Linked DNA regions of Homo sapiens: regions 2, 3, 4, 5 and 6 are each linked to region 1. Evidence: promoter capture Hi-C in 16 types of primary human blood cells and fetal thymus (Javierre and others, 2016). All regions are on one chromosome and are shown on one strand. The core of a region is centred on a gene start or on the middle of the fragment in contact, and the rest is flanking DNA. Distances in the headings are between cores, read along the strand shown. Region 1 holds the start of DIO3OS (DIO3 opposite strand upstream RNA). Region 2 overlaps MEG3 (maternally expressed 3). Region 3 holds the start of MIR770 (microRNA 770). Region 4 overlaps RTL1 (retrotransposon Gag like 1). Region 5 overlaps MEG8 (maternally expressed 8, small nucleolar RNA host gene). Region 6 overlaps LOC124903407 (mucin-2-like).

The links. The method cuts DNA at HindIII sites, captures the fragments that hold promoters and counts their contacts. A CHiCAGO score of 5 or more calls a contact.
Region 2: a contact is called between a fragment that was not itself captured here and the fragment with the promoter of DIO3OS in region 1, in 7 of 17 cell types (M1 macrophages, M0 macrophages, activated CD4 T cells and 4 more). The highest score is 11.0, in M1 macrophages.
Region 3: a fragment that was not itself captured here is called in contact with the fragment with the promoter of DIO3OS in region 1 in 13 of 17 cell types (M0 macrophages, naive CD8 T cells, activated CD4 T cells and 10 more); the score reaches 10.9 in M0 macrophages.
Region 4: a contact is called between a fragment that was not itself captured here and the fragment with the promoter of DIO3OS in region 1, in 11 of 17 cell types (erythroblasts, total CD8 T cells, M0 macrophages and 8 more). The highest score is 8.7, in erythroblasts.
Region 5: a fragment that was not itself captured here is called in contact with the fragment with the promoter of DIO3OS in region 1 in 5 of 17 cell types (total B cells, M1 macrophages, total CD4 T cells and 2 more); the score reaches 7.0 in total B cells.
Region 6: a fragment that was not itself captured here is called in contact with the fragment with the promoter of DIO3OS in region 1 in 1 of 17 cell types (total B cells); the score reaches 5.2 in total B cells.

The regions. Positions count from the first base shown.
Region 1 is chr14:101,558,804-101,561,922 of GRCh38, forward strand. DIO3OS (DIO3 opposite strand upstream RNA) reads right to left here and starts at 1,619. Exons shown (of 2, transcript NR_152588.1): 1 at 1,449-1,619. DIO3 (iodothyronine deiodinase 3) reads left to right here and starts at 2,692. Exons shown (of 1, transcript NM_001362.4): 1 at 2,692-3,119. The coding sequence starts at 2,694. MIR1247 (microRNA 1247) reads right to left here and starts at 1,619; the gene lies at 1,484-1,619. The HindIII fragment of the contact is 17,616 bases long and covers 1-3,119 here.
Region 2 is chr14:100,830,206-100,833,324 of GRCh38, forward strand. MEG3 (maternally expressed 3) reads left to right here. Exons shown (of 10, transcript NR_190993.1): 4 at 1,216-1,329; 5 at 2,307-2,436. Among named protein-coding and RNA genes, the nearest start is that of MEG3, 5.6 kb to the left of the region's middle. RefSeq lists an enhancer at 448-949. The HindIII fragment of the contact is 839 bases long and covers 1,219-2,057 here.
Region 3 is chr14:100,851,469-100,854,587 of GRCh38, forward strand. All of the region lies in intron 9 of MEG3 (maternally expressed 3), which reads left to right. MIR770 (microRNA 770) reads left to right here and starts at 922; the gene lies at 922-1,019. The HindIII fragment of the contact is 756 bases long and covers 1,109-1,864 here.
Region 4 is chr14:100,884,642-100,887,760 of GRCh38, forward strand. It overlaps RTL1 (retrotransposon Gag like 1), which reads right to left. Exons shown (of 4, transcript NM_001134888.3): 4 at 1-233. The coding sequence starts at 147. MIR136 (microRNA 136) reads left to right here and starts at 61; the gene lies at 61-142. RefSeq lists a silencer at 1,051-1,345. The HindIII fragment of the contact is 160 bases long and covers 1,471-1,630 here.
Region 5 is chr14:100,905,316-100,908,434 of GRCh38, forward strand. It overlaps MEG8 (maternally expressed 8, small nucleolar RNA host gene), which reads left to right. Exons shown (of 51, transcript NR_146000.1): 6 at 783-848; 7 at 1,621-1,817. Among named protein-coding and RNA genes, the nearest start is that of RTL1, 3.2 kb to the left of the region's middle. The HindIII fragment of the contact is 1,853 bases long and covers 650-2,502 here.
Region 6 is chr14:101,012,856-101,015,974 of GRCh38, forward strand. All of the region lies in intron 4 of LOC124903407 (mucin-2-like), which reads left to right. Among named protein-coding and RNA genes, the nearest start is that of MIR379, 7.7 kb to the right of the region's middle. The HindIII fragment of the contact is 1,799 bases long and covers 534-2,332 here.

The DNA.
Region 1 (3,119 bases), core at 369-2,868:
TGTGGATCAGGTGCTTCCTATTGGGCTGGGCCTGCAGAGGGGACAAGAGGGGCCAGTCTTACAGCCACCCAGACCATACTTTCCACACACATGCACATGCGCACACACACTTGCACACACACACACACACTTGCACACATATGCATGCACATGCCACCAGATCTCAGCCAGCACAGAAAGGCTCTCCCAGCCTTAGGTGGCTTATGCATTTTCTGAAACTAACTGTGGGAAAAGGGCTTGGGGAACCATCCCATGTGCCTGCACCAAATGCTGTGTGGGTGGGGCAGGACACAAGCCCTACACTGACACCTCCCAGAAATCAGGGAATCAGAGCTTGAGAGATTGTCCAGTAAAAGTTGGAACCCTCAACACCCCTTGACTCTGCCCAGGAGGAGCAACCTCAGAAGCCCCCCCAAACCTCCTCTCAGAGACCTGCCGAGTAGGAGGCTTCTCTCTCTACTCTCCTCCCCGCAAAAAAGAGGCCAGAAAAGAGGATGATTGGCTAACTCAGAGGTGCCCTGATGGAGGGGAGCAAACAAGGGGACTTCCAAGGAGAATTCCCTAGCCCACCTGAAAGACCCCTACCCAGAGTGGTGAGGGGCAGCTTAGGAGCACTGACGCAAGGGGGAGAGACCAGGCTGGCTTCCCTCTACGTAGTAAGTTCCTGGGGTGTGCGCCCCTGCCCCAGACAGCAGAGAAATCGCCTGACTGGGAGATGGAGAAGAGGGGCCACCTTCTCATGCCACCCCGCCGCCAATCCTCCAGGCACACTCGGGCGCTTGACCTGCTGAAGCCTGTAGCCTCAGGTCCAGTGAGGAGCTCACGGGACAGAGGGCCCTACCAGAGCCACGAAAACCGGAGGGGGGGACCTCCGCCCAAGGCAGGCGTCTCTGCGCGCCCGCTGGGGCCCTGGTCCTGCAGTTGGCTTCTCCCGACACGTTCCTTCGCTGCCGAAAGCGATTCGCCCGCGCTCTACCGAGCCCAGCCAGCTCCTACCTCGGCCCGGGCGGCGAGCGCTGTCTCCGTCCCGAGAAGAAGTTTCGCGGCTGGTCCCGGGGCGGCAGGCGCACGGGACGCTGGCGGCGGCGGCGGCTTCCGACTTGGGCTCAGACCCCGCCGCTCCAGACAAGTCCCCGCGACTGCGACAGTGTCTCGGGCAGTTCAGCTCCCCAGACGGGAGACAGACCCTCGCGACCTGGTTCAGGCCTTGCCCTGGGGGACACTGCAGTCCAAGGCGAAAGGAGACTTGCTCCCGGCCTCTGGGTCCCTAGGTCAAGGCACCTCCCCGCCCCGCCGCCCCTGAGCCCAAGTCGCCAACCCCGCGCCGCGCGCAGCGAGGGATCAGAAGGTCTCGGACGCCGCGGCAGGGCCGGCCAGGGCCCCACGAGTTAGGGAGTTGCCCCGCACCCCTAAACGCTCAGCACCCATTTACGGTTGAAAGTACGCACTTGACGCGTCCGGGCGCCTCCGCGGTGAGTCGCGCCGCCGCTCTCGGGGTCCGCGAAGGTGGCTCAGTTCGGGCGCTCCAGTCTCGACGTTCCCGGGGTAGAGAGCAACGTCCGGGGACGAACGGGACGGGTGCGCCCAGCGGCCGGGGCTGCGCTGGGCGAGGCAAGCGGCGAGAGGGGAGCGCTCCGGCGTTCAGGCAACAGCTACCCCTAGTGGGAGAGCCGCCCGGGGCCGGCGCCGCCCCGCGCCCGCTGCCCCGCGCCCCACGCCCGTGGCGCCCCGCGCCCGGGTCGGCTGGGGGCGCAGGGCCGGCGCCGCTTTCCCCAGCTCTCCGGTCTCCGGCGCCCGGCGGTAACCCGCCCGCGGGCTCTGCCCTCCGCACCTCTCAGCCCGGCCCCGGCGGCCGCTGACCCAGGAACCGCGGCGCCCCGCTGGAACGAGATGGGACGGGGCGGGCGCGGCCAGGGCGGCGCGGGCTGGGGCGGCGCGCGGCAGCCTCGGGCAGCGGCGGGGGGCGCGGAGCGCGGTGTGCGTGGCGGGGCGGTGCGGGGGGCGGCCGTGTGCGAGGCGCGAGTGTGAGCGCGCGCGGGAGGCGGGCGGGCGGGCTCCGGCAGGCGAGCGGCGCCCGCGGGCGAGCCAGGAAGGCGGCGGGAACGCAAAGTTGCCTCCTCGCTGGCCCGCGTCCTCGGTGGGGCGGGAGCCGGGGCCACCGAAGCGGCGGCCGCGGACCCGGCCTCCCGCGGCACCTGGGCAGCGGCCCCGCACGAGCGGCAGCGGCGTGGGCGGCGTTGGCGGCGGCGCGCGGGAAGCGAACCGGAGCTCCGGCGCGGCTCGGCGGCCGCCGGGGAGCTCGGCTCAGGTGCGCGGCGAGGGGGGCGCGGGCCGGAGCCAGGCGGCGGGGACCAGGGCGGCGCGCAGCGCTCGCGCCAGCTGGAGGACCTCCCCAGCGGACGCCCAGGTCCCTGGTCGGGCTCCCGGTCCCCAGCGGCAGCGGCTGCCGGAGTCCCCCGCCCCCGAGAGCTGGCTGCGGGGCCCGGGCCCGCCCCCACCGGCCCCAGGCCCGGCCGCTCCGCCCTCCGCCCGCCTGCGCCCGCCCTCAGCCCAAGATTTCTAGGGCATTGGCCGCGCTGCTGGGTGATCCCTCCGGGCTCAAGTTGCAAGGGGGCGGGCCGGGCCGGAGGTGGAGTCTCCCGCCAATTGAAGCCTCCGCTATAAATTGAACTCCCTGCACTGCTGAAGCCCAGATGCCTCGCCAGGCCACGTCGCGGTTGGTGGTCGGAGAGGGCGAGGGGTCCCAGGGGGCTTCGGGGCCTGCAGCCACCATGCTCCGCTCCCTGCTGCTTCACTCCTTGAGGCTCTGCGCCCAGACCGCCTCGTGCCTCGTGCTCTTCCCGCGCTTCCTCGGCACGGCCTTCATGCTCTGGCTTCTCGATTTCTTGTGTATCCGCAAGCATTTCCTGGGCCGCCGCCGCCGGGGGCAGCCCGAGCCCGAAGTGGAGCTCAACAGTGAAGGCGAGGAGGTGCCTCCCGATGACCCGCCCATCTGCGTGTCCGACGACAACCGCCTGTGCACCCTGGCGTCGCTCAAGGCGGTGTGGCATGGCCAGAAGTTGGATTTCTTCAAGCAGGCGCACGAGGGCGGTCCGGCGCCCAACTCCGAGGTGGTTCTG
Region 2 (3,119 bases), core at 388-2,887, 730 kb before region 1:
TGGGGTGGTCTTGGGGGTCTGGGTGGCCCCAGTGCTGGTACCATGTGCTGGCTTCACCTTTTAATAACAGTGTGACCTTAAACAAGTCGCTTAACTACTCTAAGTTTCAGTTTCTTTCATGGTCTAAATGGAGATTAAAACACACACACACACACACACACACACACACACACACACACCCCCTCGTGTATCTACCCCACAGGGCGCTTTTGAAGACCAAATGCTGTAACTACTATGAAAGTGCTTTGTAAATTGCTGTGGAAAGTGTGAGCTACTCAAGCACCCGAGGCTGTCCCTCCTTGCTCACATGTCCAGCCCAATTCTCCCTTAGTGAGAACAGCACTCAGTAGGTGCTGTGTGTGTTTGTGTTCAATTAAGAAATTCCAGAATAAATAAAAATGAATTAATTCAACAAACATTTTCTGGGGCACCGACAATCTGCCCAGTGCACCAGGCTAGGTATCTGATACAAAGATAATGAAAACAGTCTCTTGGAACCTAATTGGGGTCCTCATTTGACCAGGAATTTCTTTCGTCCCGTTTTAAGCCAACCAGTTTTGTCCGGACAAGACAAAAACAACTTGGGCTGCTTTAGAGAAGCCCAGCTCAGTGTAGACAATAGCTGCCCAGCCTCTGAAAGGGGCTGATTGGATTATGTGGCAAATGGAGGTGCAAGGATGACTTGGACGGTGACAAATGAAGTGGGCGGAGACCTGCTTTGAGTTAATCCAGGCTATTAGGAGGGGACCTTTTGTCTTCCAGAGACTGGCAGGAGCTTTTACCAGTGGTTTTTACATCCTTAATGTTCAGGACGAATAATTTATGGTCAGTGAAAATCCAGGCCCCAGTGAGATTCGAGTGGGCTGTAAAATCGAGAGTCCTGCTCCCAGTGAGTAATGGTAGTGAATGTTTCTGTCACTTTTTGCAACCGTCCATTCATTTGATCCTCACAACTCCCTGTCCTGAGCCAGGACCGGCCACTGCCACTCCCAGGGAAACAGAGGCTGTCAAGAGGCTCCACAGATTGGGCCCCACTGGATCATTGAACCCCTGTTCCCTGAGTTCTAGAGGAAGAATTGTACCTGTCTCAGTCCCGGCCACCTCCAGAAGGCCTCCCTCTGCATTTCTGACTTTGCTGTGCCGGCAGCCTGGAGCCTCCCAGGTCCCTGCTGTCATCTTTTCTAGCCACTACAGTCTCTGTCTTTCCTTTCACAGCCAAGCTTCTTGAAAGGCCTGTCTACACTTGCTGTCTTCCTTCCTCACCTCCAATTTCCTCTTCAACCCACTGCTTCCTGACTCGCTCTACTCCGTGGAAGCACGCTCACAAAGGTAAAGACTTTTCTGTGGCTTAATCCTTGTCATGTTTTCGGCTCATGGACACAAGGACACATTTTCATGCCTTCTCTCACAGGGCTCTGCGTCTCCGGTTCACTTCTGTGTCTTTACACTCCCTTCACAGAGACACTTGCTCCCCCTTCTCTCGTTCTTAGCATCCCCTAGGAACTTGCACACCCAGGTCTCTCGACTTCTGGACCTGCTTCTTACCATGCCGTCTTAAGCAGTCAGGAGTCGCTGCCTGGGTTCGAGTCCTAGTTAAATTACTTAGTGCTGAGACCTTGGGGTAGGTAAACTTTTCCAAGCCAGGTTTATCTCAGTTTCAAAATAGGGTTAATCGTCTTTATCTGGCAGGTCAGGTGGGATGTCTCACAGGTAAGCACCAGATGCCATTTGAAAGGCTTGAAGCAAAGTCAATAAAGCATTCATGGGAAAATACAACTGGAGGCACCACTAGATTTTCGTATACATTAGGTTCCCACGGGGAGGACCGAAGAGAGAAGAAAGAAGTGGAAAGGGAGGAGCGTGCAGGAGAGACAGGAGAAGAGAATAACTAAACAAAGACATTAAAGACAAAAAAAAAGTAGGAAAGGGAGACTTAGAAAATATTAAAAGCCACCAAAAACACATCCAAAGACGGTTTCCCCTTACGTTAGTTGGGCTAAAAGAAAGCAAATGGGAAGAAGGTTTTAAATTGATTATCCCAGTGACAAATCCCAGGAAGCTTTCACATCAAATCACCCTATTCTGGGTTTTTAACTCCTTCCATCGAGTTTAACCTCTTTACCTCCCACATCCTGGTAAACCCTGCCCCCTCCCTACCGCCCCCTTTGCTGGTGATTAAATCCTGAAGGTACACGAAGTATTTCAGTGAATGAATGGCTAACAGAAAAGGGCCTCCCCTCCCCCTTACCCTGGCGGTGTTTTTCAGTTTTATTCCACTTTCCGCCCTTTTCCCTTAATGAACACAGGGCTAATCTCGGGCCTTGTCGAAGGAAGAGGCTGCAGACGTTAATGAGGTTAGCTGCTGGATTCCAGTATTCGTCGCATAAGGATCCTTCTTTGTCTGCGAAGGAAAAACACACTGATTATCATAATGAGGTGAACTGGCCACCGCCGGGCCGGGGCGATGTGGCTTCTTAAGCCACACTTCTAATTTTGGTGATGGAGCCGACATTTCTTTGGCTTCTCATTTAAGTCTTTGCCTCTGTCCCAGTGCGAAGTCCATTCAGCGGGGTTGAAAGTTGCAGGCAGCTTTGGGAAGGGGGGCGTCGGACAGGGTTGCATTGTAGAAAGTGGCTTTGTTCGATCCTTCGCACAGATGCAAATGGCCAGAGCATTCATTCCCTTTCTTCAAGAGCTGAGGACTGGGGGGGCCACTGGTGATCAGTTCCCAACTCTAGCTCTCCTCTGACTCATCTCAGGACCCATTGAGGACATCCAAAACTCACTCAAGATCACCAAGTGGTAGGAAAGTACTAACTCCTGGGCATAGCCCTAGGGGAGTGACTACAATGTGAATACTCATGGAATGCCTAGCCAGGTGAAGAAGTGAATGCATGTTGGCATCCCAGAGGGACCCCCCTTAAGAGGGCATAGTTTGGGGTTCAGATTTGACTCCAGCATACTGTTGAAATTGGGCACAGGGGGCTAGTGATTAGTCAGGATCAATCAGTGGAGAGGAGATTAAAACTCACATCTGGGAGTCCGGAATCAGAACTTGTAGTTCTTTTTTTTGAAATGGAGTCTCGCTCTGTCGCCCAGGCTGGAGTGCAGTGGCGTGA
Region 3 (3,119 bases), core at 237-2,736, 710 kb before region 1:
GACCCAGAAGCCCCGGGACCCAGGAGCCCTGGGCAAGCCACCAGAAACCTTGTTCTTGCAACTCTCTGCAGTGTGCCCAGGCCACCCTCTGGCCTGGTCTTCCATGGGGCAGGGCGCCCACCCTTCTCAACTCAGGTTTCCCTGGGCAGCAGGTGCACCTCAGCACCCCTGGGGTTGCAGAAGTGGTCCGGGGACCCTGGCTTCCTTGACATGCCATCCCCAGAGCCTGGTTCAAGGCCTCTCTGTCTTCTCGGCTGTTTCACGACGTGTTTTGTAACTTGGCGGGATTGCGTTTCGCTGTGTCGAGGTTGTCTCTTCTCTGACTCGCCCTCCGGGGGACTGCCGGGGTAAATCTGGAGAGTTGCTCGTGCTGACAGTCCTCCCCCAGGGCCTCCCCGGTTCTGTTGAGTCTCCTTTCTCTGTAGTGGAGGAAATGTGTGTAGTTTTGTGTTGTGTGCCTGTGTTTGTCTGTAAAAGCAAGGACCAAAGTCTCCCTTGTTGACCTCTCAATTCCTATTTGGGACATATAAAAACACTGGATTCTTAACAAGCGCCCGGAGCAGTAGGAGCACAGCTTGGATGGACTCAGGACTTGTGGCAGGGAGCACGTGGGAGGCAGGGGAGTGGGGTGGGGCCAGGCCATCTGGAGTGGGAGGCGTCATGCTCAGAGTGACTCTGTAGACGCTGGGTGGGATGGGGAGTGCGGGCGCAGGCATGGATGGGGCTGTTAGCTAGTGTGATGCTTGAGGTCTGAGCTGATGGCAGCAAAGTGGGGTGCTCAGGAATCAAAGCTATGGGGTTATAGACAGGATATGAAGGAGGGAGGGAGGCAAGAAGAAGGGGGTGGTTCCCACGCTTCTAGCTCCGGCCGAGTGGATGGCAACAGCATTTGGAAGGCGGAGGACATGGAATTCATGTGTCAGGAGCCACCTTCCGAGCCTCCAGTACCACGTGTCAGGGCCACATGAGCTGGGCCTCGTGGGCCTGATGTGGTGCTGGGGCCTCAGGGGTCTGCTCTTCTTCTCTTTCAGAATCTGGGGCTCCAGGCTATGCCTTGGCTGGACTGAGGTCTGGGGGTGCACTTATTATCCCTGGGGACACCTGCTGAAGCTTCTCCCTGACAAGCTGTGTCACTGTTGGATGAGGATGGGGCGGGAGGGGTTCAGGGCAGAAGAAGACCGGGAGGGTCTTTCAAAAGAACTCATGTACGGCTGTTAAAAAAAGTCAGCAGAGGCTCAGGAAGACTTAAAGTGTGCAGAAGGCGGGGAAGGGAGGGCCCATTGCATGCACCAAGAGGAAATTGGAAGGAACAAGCGACGTTGGCTGCTAGGAGAGCCTGCTCCCAACATCTAGGGGCTGTCCTGACGGGTCACAGTGGGTCGAACTGAGCCAATGAGAGCAGCTCTGGGGAGACCCACTGGTGCCCTGGAGGCTGGGTGGGTTTGGGTTGGATGAATTCTGTGTGTCCTTTTGGAAATGTGGAGGCCATGAGGGGGGATCAGGGCTCTTAGGGTTTTGACCCTTAAGAGTTTTGTATCTGTAATTCAAAGGTTCTTTAGTTCTGGGATGCTGAGATTCGGGATAGGGTTCCTAATGGCACAAAAGCCAGAGATAAAACATCCTTCACGTGCTCCCTACCCGGTTCTTTCTGTACCAGACCCACAAGGTCCGAGTTGGGATCCTAGTGCTCCTGTCTGGTCAGGGCCTATCTTTATGTGTTCGTTAAACTTTTAACAATGAGAATTAATTCTGTCTCTTGACATTGTCATTTGCATGCTCCCCACACACAAATCCTTTCCTGGTGACACCAGGAGCTACAACTCTCCTTGGCCTCCTCTTGTGACTCCCAACTCCCTCCTTGGGAAGCTTGGCCTCAGGACCTCTGGGATAGACAGGCCACGAATCCTGCTGTGTCCCGTTGTGTTCCTAATATAAATGGTGTGGATGGCACTTGACCTAGAGCAGTGGGAAATGCATGCACCACTCAACATTCTGACATGTCACCCATTTTACATTCTTACAGGCATACTTTTTTTAAAAAAAGAGTGTCTATTCTTTAATGAGCATCCCTTCTTTAAAAAAACCTAATTGCCATTATTCACCACATACACTTTTTTTTTTTTGTATCCTGCCTCTTCTATTTAATTTTCTGTCATCAACATTTTCCCTTGTTCCATGAATCTTCATAACCTCACTTGCTGCGTTGTGCCTTGTTGAGTGGCTATGGCATCATTCACAGAACCATTCTGTTATTCTTATGTATAACCACCTTTTAAAAATATTATGAATAATGCCACAACTAACTGCTTAAAACACCCTTTTTTTCATTCTTAAGAATTATGTTCTTCCACCCAGAAATTATCATTGCTTCACTACAGATCAGTTTCCCCTGCTAGACTGTGAGCCCCATAAGGGCAAGGAGCTTATTGAATTGGCCTTTGTATCTCTGATGCCCAACATGTTGTAGACTATAAATAAATGATGAATGAGTGGATGGAAGAATGGAGGAAGGAGCGAGTGAGTGAGTGTTTGGCTGATGGATAAGAGGGTGGAAGGATAGGCGGAAGGATGGATTGGTGAATGAATGAATGAATTTCCTTTGGTTAAGTCTCTTGAAAGAAAGGCTATGGATCTTTGTATGGATGTTGAATAATTTCAGTAAGCTTACAGCATTTTACAATGTTCAGCAATGTATGACCACTTAATTAAGATATGGCTAGTTTGTCTCTGTTATAAAGTACTTTTGCATTACTTTAACTTGCATTGCTTTAATTACTAATGATGGGTGAACACTTTGACCTATGTTTGTTAACAAATTGTATTTTATCTTCTGTGAACTGTTTGTCCAAGTCCTTTGGGTCATGGCTTTCTGAAGAGACTGGTCCCAGATGTCCTTGGGATGTAGGGAGCCCATAGCTCACTGGAGGCATTCAAGGAACCAGCCAGGCAGCCCTCAGAGAAAGTAGTGTTTAGGAGATTCTCATGGTGTGGGGTTGGCCTAGGTGGCCTTTCAGGTCTGTTTGATGTTAGGATTTGCTTCTCCCTGGGAAGTGGGTGATGGGGAAAAAGACACCTTCCATTGGCAGGTGTAGACACTGCAGGCTGGACCTCCTGGGTGT
Region 4 (3,119 bases), core at 301-2,800, 670 kb before region 1:
GCTGGCTGGCCCTGCCTCTCCCCGCACTCCACTGCCCGACGTCGCCTCGGTGGTGTTGGATGAGCCCTCGGAGGACTCCATTTGTTTTGATGATGGATTCTTATGCTCCATCATCGTCTCAAATGAGTCTTCAGAGGGTTCTATCATTTCGTCGGATGGAAAGGAGTGTATTCTGAAGATTGGTAAGGTTGTGATGGCGTCCAGTCAGTAGCTGGGACCGTGGAGATCAGAACCTGGTGGTGGAAGGGGAGTGTGGGGAGTAAAGGCAGTAGTTTAGGATCTTGTGAAGTGGCAGTATCAGGGTCTCAAGGACAAATCAGATGCCCAACTAATCAGAGCAGAGAGAAATGGGGGAAAGCCTTCTTGTATCGAGCCAGCCTCTTTGGCTGGTCACTTGGGGTGCCCCCAGGGAGGGAAGATCTGTCAACCCCTGACCTGCCTCCCAGGCTTATTCAGTCTGCCTGTCCTGTCCTTTTCCTCCATAGATGTGAGAAATTCACAGCCCATAAATTCTGTGGCTGGGAGCAGCCACCGTGGCAGGCGGGTACCTGGCAGGGTGCACAGGCTGCTCCATTCCCCCCTGGCACATGCACCTGGTCAATCCTCTTTTCCTGCTTTGGTCACCTGAGAATCACAGAGGTCACATCTCAGCACCATCCAAAGCCACCCCTGGCAGGCTCAGGGCTCTGGAGCAAGCCCAGCCACCTTGGTTGTGGAGCGGGAATCTCTAGCAAAGATGCCTACTGTTTCACCAGTGCAGTGGAAGAGGAGAAAATGGGCACTTGGCCACTGTCCCGTCAGTTGGGTCAGCAGCCCAAAATAGTTCTTATTTCCTTCCCCATGTTCAAAATAGAAATTTCAGGGGGTGTGTACAGGTCTGGGTTTTTTTTTTTTTTTTCCATAAATTTTATAACATACCTACTATGTGCTGGATAACTGCATATTTGTTACTTGATTCTAACTCAGACTTTTGGCCAATTTCTCTTTCTCGATTTGGTCTCCTTCCAATGCTATGTTCTCCCGACCTCTGAGCTGTTGAGGAGATCTTCAAATAATCTCCTTCTCTTCCTACAATCTCCACTCTCCCAGGACTGCCCTCTTTGTGAGGCTTCTGGAACTTCACACATCTGGCCTCAATTTCACCAGTGCAAGCATATCTGCACGCCTCTCCAATCTTATCCTCCCAGGTCCCCTTCTTAACGCCAGTGGGTCTGGTCTCCTCTTTCTAGCAAATATCTTTTTCTCTCTGTTGCTGGTTGAGCCCTCCCAACAGACATGTATCTGGCAGAGTTGGGACATTGAGTGTGGGGGTTGGGGGGAACATGTGACATCTTTGGAATCTGACGGTCCCAGAGTGGATTTTTGGAAATCTAGTGTTGGGTGGTTTTAGTGGGCTGAGACAGAATTGAAAGGGAATGTCTTGGTTGGGGTTATTTGCACATTTCTTCTCTGCTGGGGCAGAGCAAATTAAGCTTTGATTATCTGATAGATTAACTGTAAAGCTACTGCTCTTTATAAATTTAACACCTTTTGTTACTTCTGAGTTTTCTTCTAAGCCACTGGACCCATCCGTAAAAAAAAAAAAAAAAACTGCGTTCCCCCTTACGTGAAACTCATTGGCTAAAATCCAAGCTTTCCAACAGGATACAAAATTCAGATCTGCTGTTTCTCAAAATTAAGTACACCCTTGTTAGCATGACACTTAAATTTGATCATGCAGTCTCTCTGATTAAAGCCTTCCACTGTTTATTTACTGTCTGCAATATTAAATCCAAACCTTCTAGCGTAAACATATCTGACATGTAAACTCACCAAAACTATTCTCTGGTTAAAATGTAAGGGCCTTAATATAATATAAAATTCTTATTTTGTCATTCCTCAAGGTAGAGATCACATTTTTTTAAAGCACAGTATACAAATCAGCATGGTATAGGAATTATAAGAATCATCATCATCATCATCATGATGTACATAGCACATTGCAGAAATTAACTCATTTCCTCTCCATAAAAGTCCTCTGAGATATGCATTATTACTGTAAAATTCCAAACCTCTAATATAAAATTCTAATTGAAATACAAATAAATAATTCTAATTGAAATACAAAAACTAAGTAATTCATCTGCAGACTTATCTATCAGGAATAAAAATCTCAGCATGTCTCTCACTTAAAACTCTTTATTGGTGAAAATTTAAATTTCTTAGCAAGACGATTTAAAAACTAGATTATGCCCCCTCTTAATATAAAGTCTACACTGCTTAACATATTTACAAATTCGACCATGTGAATGATTAAATCCTTCAATGTTCCTGCCTTCAGCTCAAAATCTAATATCCTCGGCATGTTAGAAAAATCTTAATACTTCTTAACATCAAAGTTTAAACTGTTAGCAAGATGAATAAAGGTCATCTCATAATTTCTCTATTTAACACATATAAAAATTCATTTTTATTGCCTGTAAAGTTTCAACCACTTAGCATAAAATGAAAATTTTCACCGTGTAATTTACTTGCCAACTGATTAATACGAACCCCCAAATCTCATCAGGTCACTCCTAAAACCCTTTATTGGCTTAATTCCAAACCTCTTCGCATGATATAAAATTCTGACCATGTCATTCCTCAAAATAAAAAGGTCACTCTCCCTTGCAAGATACACGAATTTGCTCTTATAACTTCTGCTTAAAGCTTTATTCTATCTCTTAATTACCTATGAGATAAGGTCTAATTATTTTTAGCATAGAACAATACATTTTACTATAAAATTTCTCTGACTACTCTACCCAAGACAAAATTTCTGCCATGTTACTGCCTTAAAAATCTCTTAATGAGCCAGGCACGGTGACTCACAGCTGTAATCCCAGCACTTTGGGAGGCCAAGGCAGGTGGAACACTTGAGGTCAAGGGTTCTAGGTCAGCCTGGCCAACATGGTGAAATCCTGTTTCTACTAAAAATACAAAAATTAGCCGGGAGTAGTGGCTCATGCCCGTAATCCTAGCTACTTCTCCTAGGCTGAGGCGGGAGAATCGCTTGAACCTTGGAGGTTGCAGTGAGCCGAGATTGCGCCGCTGCACTCCAGCTTGGGCAACAGAGGGAGATTCCCTCTCAAAAAAAAAAC
Region 5 (3,119 bases), core at 326-2,825, 650 kb before region 1:
TGCCTTGAAGAGTGGTACCCTCAGGCCCTTTTCCAGCCAGGGGTCAGGGAGAGAGCTGGAGGGCTCGGGGAGGCAGGGACTGGGAGGGAGAGTGGGGAGAGGAGCGCTGGGGGCTGCAGGAGGGTCTCTGGGCAGCTGGCGGGTGTCTCGTTCCGCAACACTCTGCACCCTGGTACATCGTCCTCCGTCCACTCAACGTGGAATGATTCTCTTCCCTCTGGATCCAGCCCCTCTAGTTCCCTTTTCACTTTGAGGCATTTGCCCCCTGTGAATCAGTTCCCTGCTACTCCAGAAAATTTCTCTCATACCCCAGGCCCCTCTGTTCTTTTAAATGGCACCCTTCACCCCCAGCCCTTCATCTTCTGCACTGTATTTTCACTTGTTGATTTAAAAATCCCTTTATTATGGGAAATTGCAAACAACACAAAAGTAGAGAAAATAGTACGTATTTTTACTGTTTACTCAATTTTCATCTTGCCATTACCCGGACACGGTTGCCGTCAAACCCTGGCCCCTCTTGTTTCATCTAAACCCTAAACTGTCCCTCTACTCCCACTGCCCAACCCCTACCCCTGGACTATTTCGAAGCAAATTTCAGACACCATCCTGTTTCCTCTGAGCATTTTTTAGTTTGTATCTCTAAATAAGAAGCTTTTGTTTCTTAAAAATAAAACCACAACACCATTATCACAAGTTAAAAAATTAATAGCCTTTCCTTAATATCATCCACCATCTATGTAGCATTCCAATATTCTTGATTGACTCATAAATTTCTTTTACAGTTGGCTTGGTCAAGTCAGTGTTCAAACTATCTCCTGCTCTTTCAAGGGGATCTGGGGCTCTAGAAGGTAAGTATGGCTACACATTTAGGGGTTGAATATCTGCCTGGACCTTAAATGAGAAACTCAACCTCAGCAAACCTCAGTGTTCTCACTGAAAATGGGGCAAGTTCTGGGTCTCTCCTTGGGTCATTGAGAGGGTTAGAGCATTAACCCCTGAAGCCCCAGCCGCATGTCTAATATGTCAGAGACACTCAGCAAACAGTAGCTGCGAGAATGATTCTTTTTCCCAGAAACGTTTAAAGGGGATTTGGGCAGGGGCAGGCAAAACATAGCTGGCTATTGTCCATAAAACAAAAGGCTCCTGGCAGTCCAGGTCCCCTGAGTGGTTAAAACAGCACATGCACTACATCCCAAAAAGGGCAGCCTACAGTCTGGGGGCTGGGTTCGCCTGGACCTCCTGGCTTGCCGTTTAGCTGCCTGACCTCAGCTGTTGTGACCTGGGACCAACAGGGGACCCCGGCAGGTGCCTATCCACTAGATGGCACTCTCTACTGTGAGTCCAGGGGGGACCACCACCCCAAACTGCTTTGGCCACTGCCCAGCCCTGGGTGCCACCGGAAGATGCACACCACTAAAACATCGCAGATAATTTCTAAAAAGCACTTCTCAACATGTCATGCAAAAGATGCGGTGGTTTATTTCCTTGCATAAATCCCAACCAGATTGCAGAAGCAGAGGGAATGAACATTTAATGACTTTGCTGAGGCCAGACACTGGTATGTCTACGCTCTCTTTAAATCCTCATCCCAGCGACATCTGATTTCCCTTCATTTTACAGATTAGAGGACTTGGAGAGGTTAGTGACTTGCTCGAGGTCGGCTAGGAAGCAAGACCCAGGATTCCAACTCAGGTCTGTGTGATTCCTCTGCAAAATGGAGAGGTGGAAGGATGGATGTCAGGTCTGATGGATGGATGGATGCCTACATCAAGATACATGCATAGATGGAGAGATGGCTGGCTACCTCATGAATGCTGGTAAGATGGATGAGTGAATTGAAGCACAGGTGGTGGAAGGAGAGAGGAATGAGAGAGGATAGTCAATTTCCCACCAAGATCAAAGGCTTACTTGATCTTTGAAGAGAGGTTCCCTCTGAATGGAGCTTGCTGGTGAAGCTCCTGCCTTCTGTTCTGCTTCTGAGCGCACTGACTGGCTCAGGTGGCTCTGGGACAACAGGTGGGATGCCAGCTTACAGGGACCAAGTCCCAGCTGTGGTGCTGGAGCTGCTCAGTGGCAACTCTCCGTCTCTGCTGCTTTCACGCAGCACTGACGAAGAGCAGGCATCCGCCTTTCCACTGGCTCTCCTGGATGACTAAGCCCTAAGCCCCAACCGCATACTCAGCCCTTCACTGGCACTTGGCATAATTTTATCTCCTCTAAATCATCACAGCCACCCTCCATGATAGCAATTTCTATTCTCAATTAAGTGAAAAGGAAACCGAAGTTTAGGAGTGGTAAGTGACTTACCCAAAATCGTATAAGGAGGAAATGCAGACCCAGGATTTGAACTCGAGTCTTCTTTCCTTCCAAACTCATCCCCTCAACCTGTTTATTTCCTTTTCTCTATGACCATGTCTGAAGAAATCTGCCTTGGGGTTGTCTCATATTGGACTCACTCTCTTGGTCTGTCAGTGAGCTGAACTTCTCATCCAATCAAATCCAAGCTTATTTCCCAAGTAATATCTCTAGTGTATTCTATTTGTAATGATCACACAGGCAAGGGCCACACATATCACTGGCATCCTACAGTACAATTAATCAAGTCAAATTAGATTCCTGGCATCTCATATTCTGACTGAATGCTAATGGTAGTAGATGTAAAAATGACTCCAGTGCAAGGCAAGGAGGGAGGGGACTGGATGTAGGGCTGAATGGCGAATCAGTAAGCCTTGCTGCAGACCTGGGTTAACATTAGCAGATAGGTTTTGAGAACCTGCTCATGGGCTAGGCCCTACTTCACACATTCTAGGTGCTAAGGTTTCAATCTCAGCTTTGCCATTGACTACTTTTGTGAGTTTGGACAAGGTATTTAATTTCTGTGCCGCGTTTTCTTCAGTTGTACCAACAGTACCTTACTAATACCGATAGTACCTTACTAATGAGTACTTGAGGATTAAATGAGGCAAACATATAAATTCCTTAAAAGAGAGCATTCCAGGCTGGGCATGGTGGCTTATGCCTGTAATCCCAGCACTTTGGGAGGCTGAGGTGGGAGGATCCCTTGAGCCCAGGAGTTCGAGACCAGCCTGAGAAACATAGGGAGACCCCAATCTCTACAA
Region 6 (3,119 bases), core at 183-2,682, 550 kb before region 1:
GGCCCACTGCAACCTCTGCCTCCTAGTCTCAAGCAATTCTCCTGCCTCAGCCTCCCAAGTAGCTAGGATTACAGGCGTGTGCCACCACGCCTGGCTAATATGTGTATTTTTGGTAGAGATGGGGTTTCATCATGTTGGCCAGGCTGGTCTTGAACTCCTGACCTCAAGTGATCCACCCACCTTGGCCTCCCAAAGTGCTGGGATTACAGGCATGAGCCACCGTGCCCAGCCTCTCTCTTCCTAGCATTTCTATTGTTTGTATGTTGGAACTCCTGACTAGTTTTGTAATATTCCCATATTTTTCCTTTGATTTTCAACTTTTAATATTCATGTTCTGTTTCTAAGAAGGATTTCCCTATCTTTATGTTTTAACTTATTTTCATTTCTGCTTTCATATTTCTAATTTTTAATTTTTAAATTATATTCTAAATATTATATAACAATTTGTTTTATGAATGCAATTGCTTCTTTAATATCTCTGATAATATTAATAATAGGTCTTTTGAAACTTTTTTCTCCCTGCAGAGCAGGCAAGCTTTGTTCAGTTTACCACTTAGAACTGGAAATCGTTTACCCATGTTGCTCTGTAGGTGTGTTCATTTTTAATTTTGATTTTGTAAGGCCTTTTTAACAAGAATAGTAACTCTTTTTATATCATATGTTACCAGGATCCCCCACTTTTTCATCTGCCATTTCATTTTGTTGATAAATTATTTTTTATTTTAAAAATTACTATGTTCTAAAAATTTATCTTTAATTTTTCCTTACAGTTTCTTCACTTGAATTTTTCTTTTAGCTCAGAAAGTCCTTTCCCAAACTGAACTTTAATTTTTTTTTTAGTTCTTTCATGATTTCATCTTTTATATTTGAATCTTTACTTATCATCTTAATTATTGTGAGAAATAACTATTTGTTCCACTTCCACATTTAATACATGCTAGATACTTTTATAGCTCGGGTTCTTGTTCTGGTTTTCTATTATCCATTGCTTTGTCATTGCTTTATTTTAGTATATTGTATTGTTAAAATGTGTTATTACTCAGTAGCAATAGTCTTCCTTAATTCTTATTTTTCAAGATTTTCTCCGTTAGTCTTATTTGTATATTCTTTCAGATGAACTGTAGTGATATTGTAAAGTTAAAAACATTCTTTATGGATATTGTGTGGAACCTTATAAAACTGTCAATTAATTTAAAGAGAGTTGATATTTTTTGAAACAGGCTTTGCATGATATTTTGAGTTTTATGTATACATATATATTCATAAGTTGTCAAATTCGACAGATTCACAATTTGTTATTTTTATCTCAAGGAATTAAGTATGGCTTCTATTGTGAATTTGATCCACTTTCTTTATATTTTCTAACTGGTTGTTATTGGTATGTAGGGAAATGTCTGTATATTTATTGTTACTGTTCATCTCACTGAATTCTCTAATTTGTTCTACAAGTTTCTAGTTGAGTGTTTTGGAACTTCTAGGTAAAGAGTCATTCATGGCTGGGCATGGTGGCTAACGCCTGTAATCCCAGCACTTTGGGAGGCCCAGGTGGGCGGATCACCTGAGGTCAGGAGTTCGAGACCAGCCTGCCCAACATGGCGAAACCCTGGCTCTACCAAAAATACAAAAAACTTAGCTGGGCATGGTGGTGGGTGCCTGTAATCCCAGCTACTCAGGAGGCTGAGGCAGGAGAATTGCTTGAACCCGGGAGGCGGAGGTTGCAGTGAGCCGAGATTGTGCCACTGGACTCCAGCCTGGGTGACAAGAGCGAAACTCCATGTCAAAAAAAAAGGGTCATTCATATCTATATATAATGCAATTTTTGTCTGTCACTTTATCTCATCTATTTCTTTTCCTTTGACTAGATCTTCTAAAACATTATATTATTGATAACAGAAATCTTGTCTTGTTTCTGGTTCACTTTTAAGTATGGTTGCAAATCATTTTTTAGTTGAGATTTTTTAAATAAATGAAGTATTTATACCTAGTTAATATAAGACTTTAAATCAGGATTGGAGTTAGAATTTTATGAAATGCTTTTTTGATATCTGCAGATATCATGTTGTTTTTCTCTGTTGATCTGTTGATACAATAAGCTAATGTTTCGTAACTTTGAAACATTTTTGATTGAATTCTACTTGATTATGGTGTATTGTTGTTTTAATACACTACAAGATTTGCTGGGCTAATATTTCATTTAGAATTTTCCAAATCTATTTGTTGTTGAATTTGGGTGTCAAAGTTATGCTGACTTTGTAAAATAAATTAGGGAACATTCCATCTTTTTCTATGTTCTGTACCATATATGCATTATTTGAATGATTTAGTCCACGAAAGCTTGAAAGAACTCACGTATGTAACTATCCTGGGATAAGTCTTTGGTAACGTCTCTTATTTCTTCTGTATTTATTGGATTCTTTAGGTTTTCTACGTCTTTAGAATTTTTGCTTCTTTTTCTAACATAGCTCAGCGTTTAAATGCGCAGGCACTGGAATTAGACAAATCCAGTTTAAGATTTTGGCTCTCTCATTTTCCATATGATGGGGAAACTGTGTCACCTCCCTAGTTCTTAGTTTCCTCACCTGTTAAATGGTTAAAACGAAAGCCTCCGAGGGCCCTAACAGGACCAGCGTGAGGATTCAGAGATAAAGTACCTTGCACTGGTTCTGGCACATAATGAGTGCTCAATAATGTTTTTAGATATTATTTATCCTAGAAAATAATAGATTTTTCTGAGATTTAAAAACTTATTCACATAGGATTATAAATAGTATTTTTATACTAGAATTTTAATGTATTTCTATGATTACTTCACTTTTGTCATTCTTAATTTTGTATGTGCATACTTTATCTCTTTTTCATTAGATGACCTAGAAGAATATCTATTTTAGAGGTTTCTCAAAGAATCTGTTCTTGGGATAACTTGTCAGTTCAACTGGTTTTTGTGTGCCTGTGTTCAAATTAAATAATATCTGTCTTTATTGATTTCTTTCTTCTGCTTTCTTTAAGTTTGTTTTATGGATTTGTCCATATATGCCCTATTGTTATTCTTCTTTAATAATGAAAATATTTCATGGTATGAACTTGCTTCTGTTCACAATTTTGACTGCATTTTCATGTGT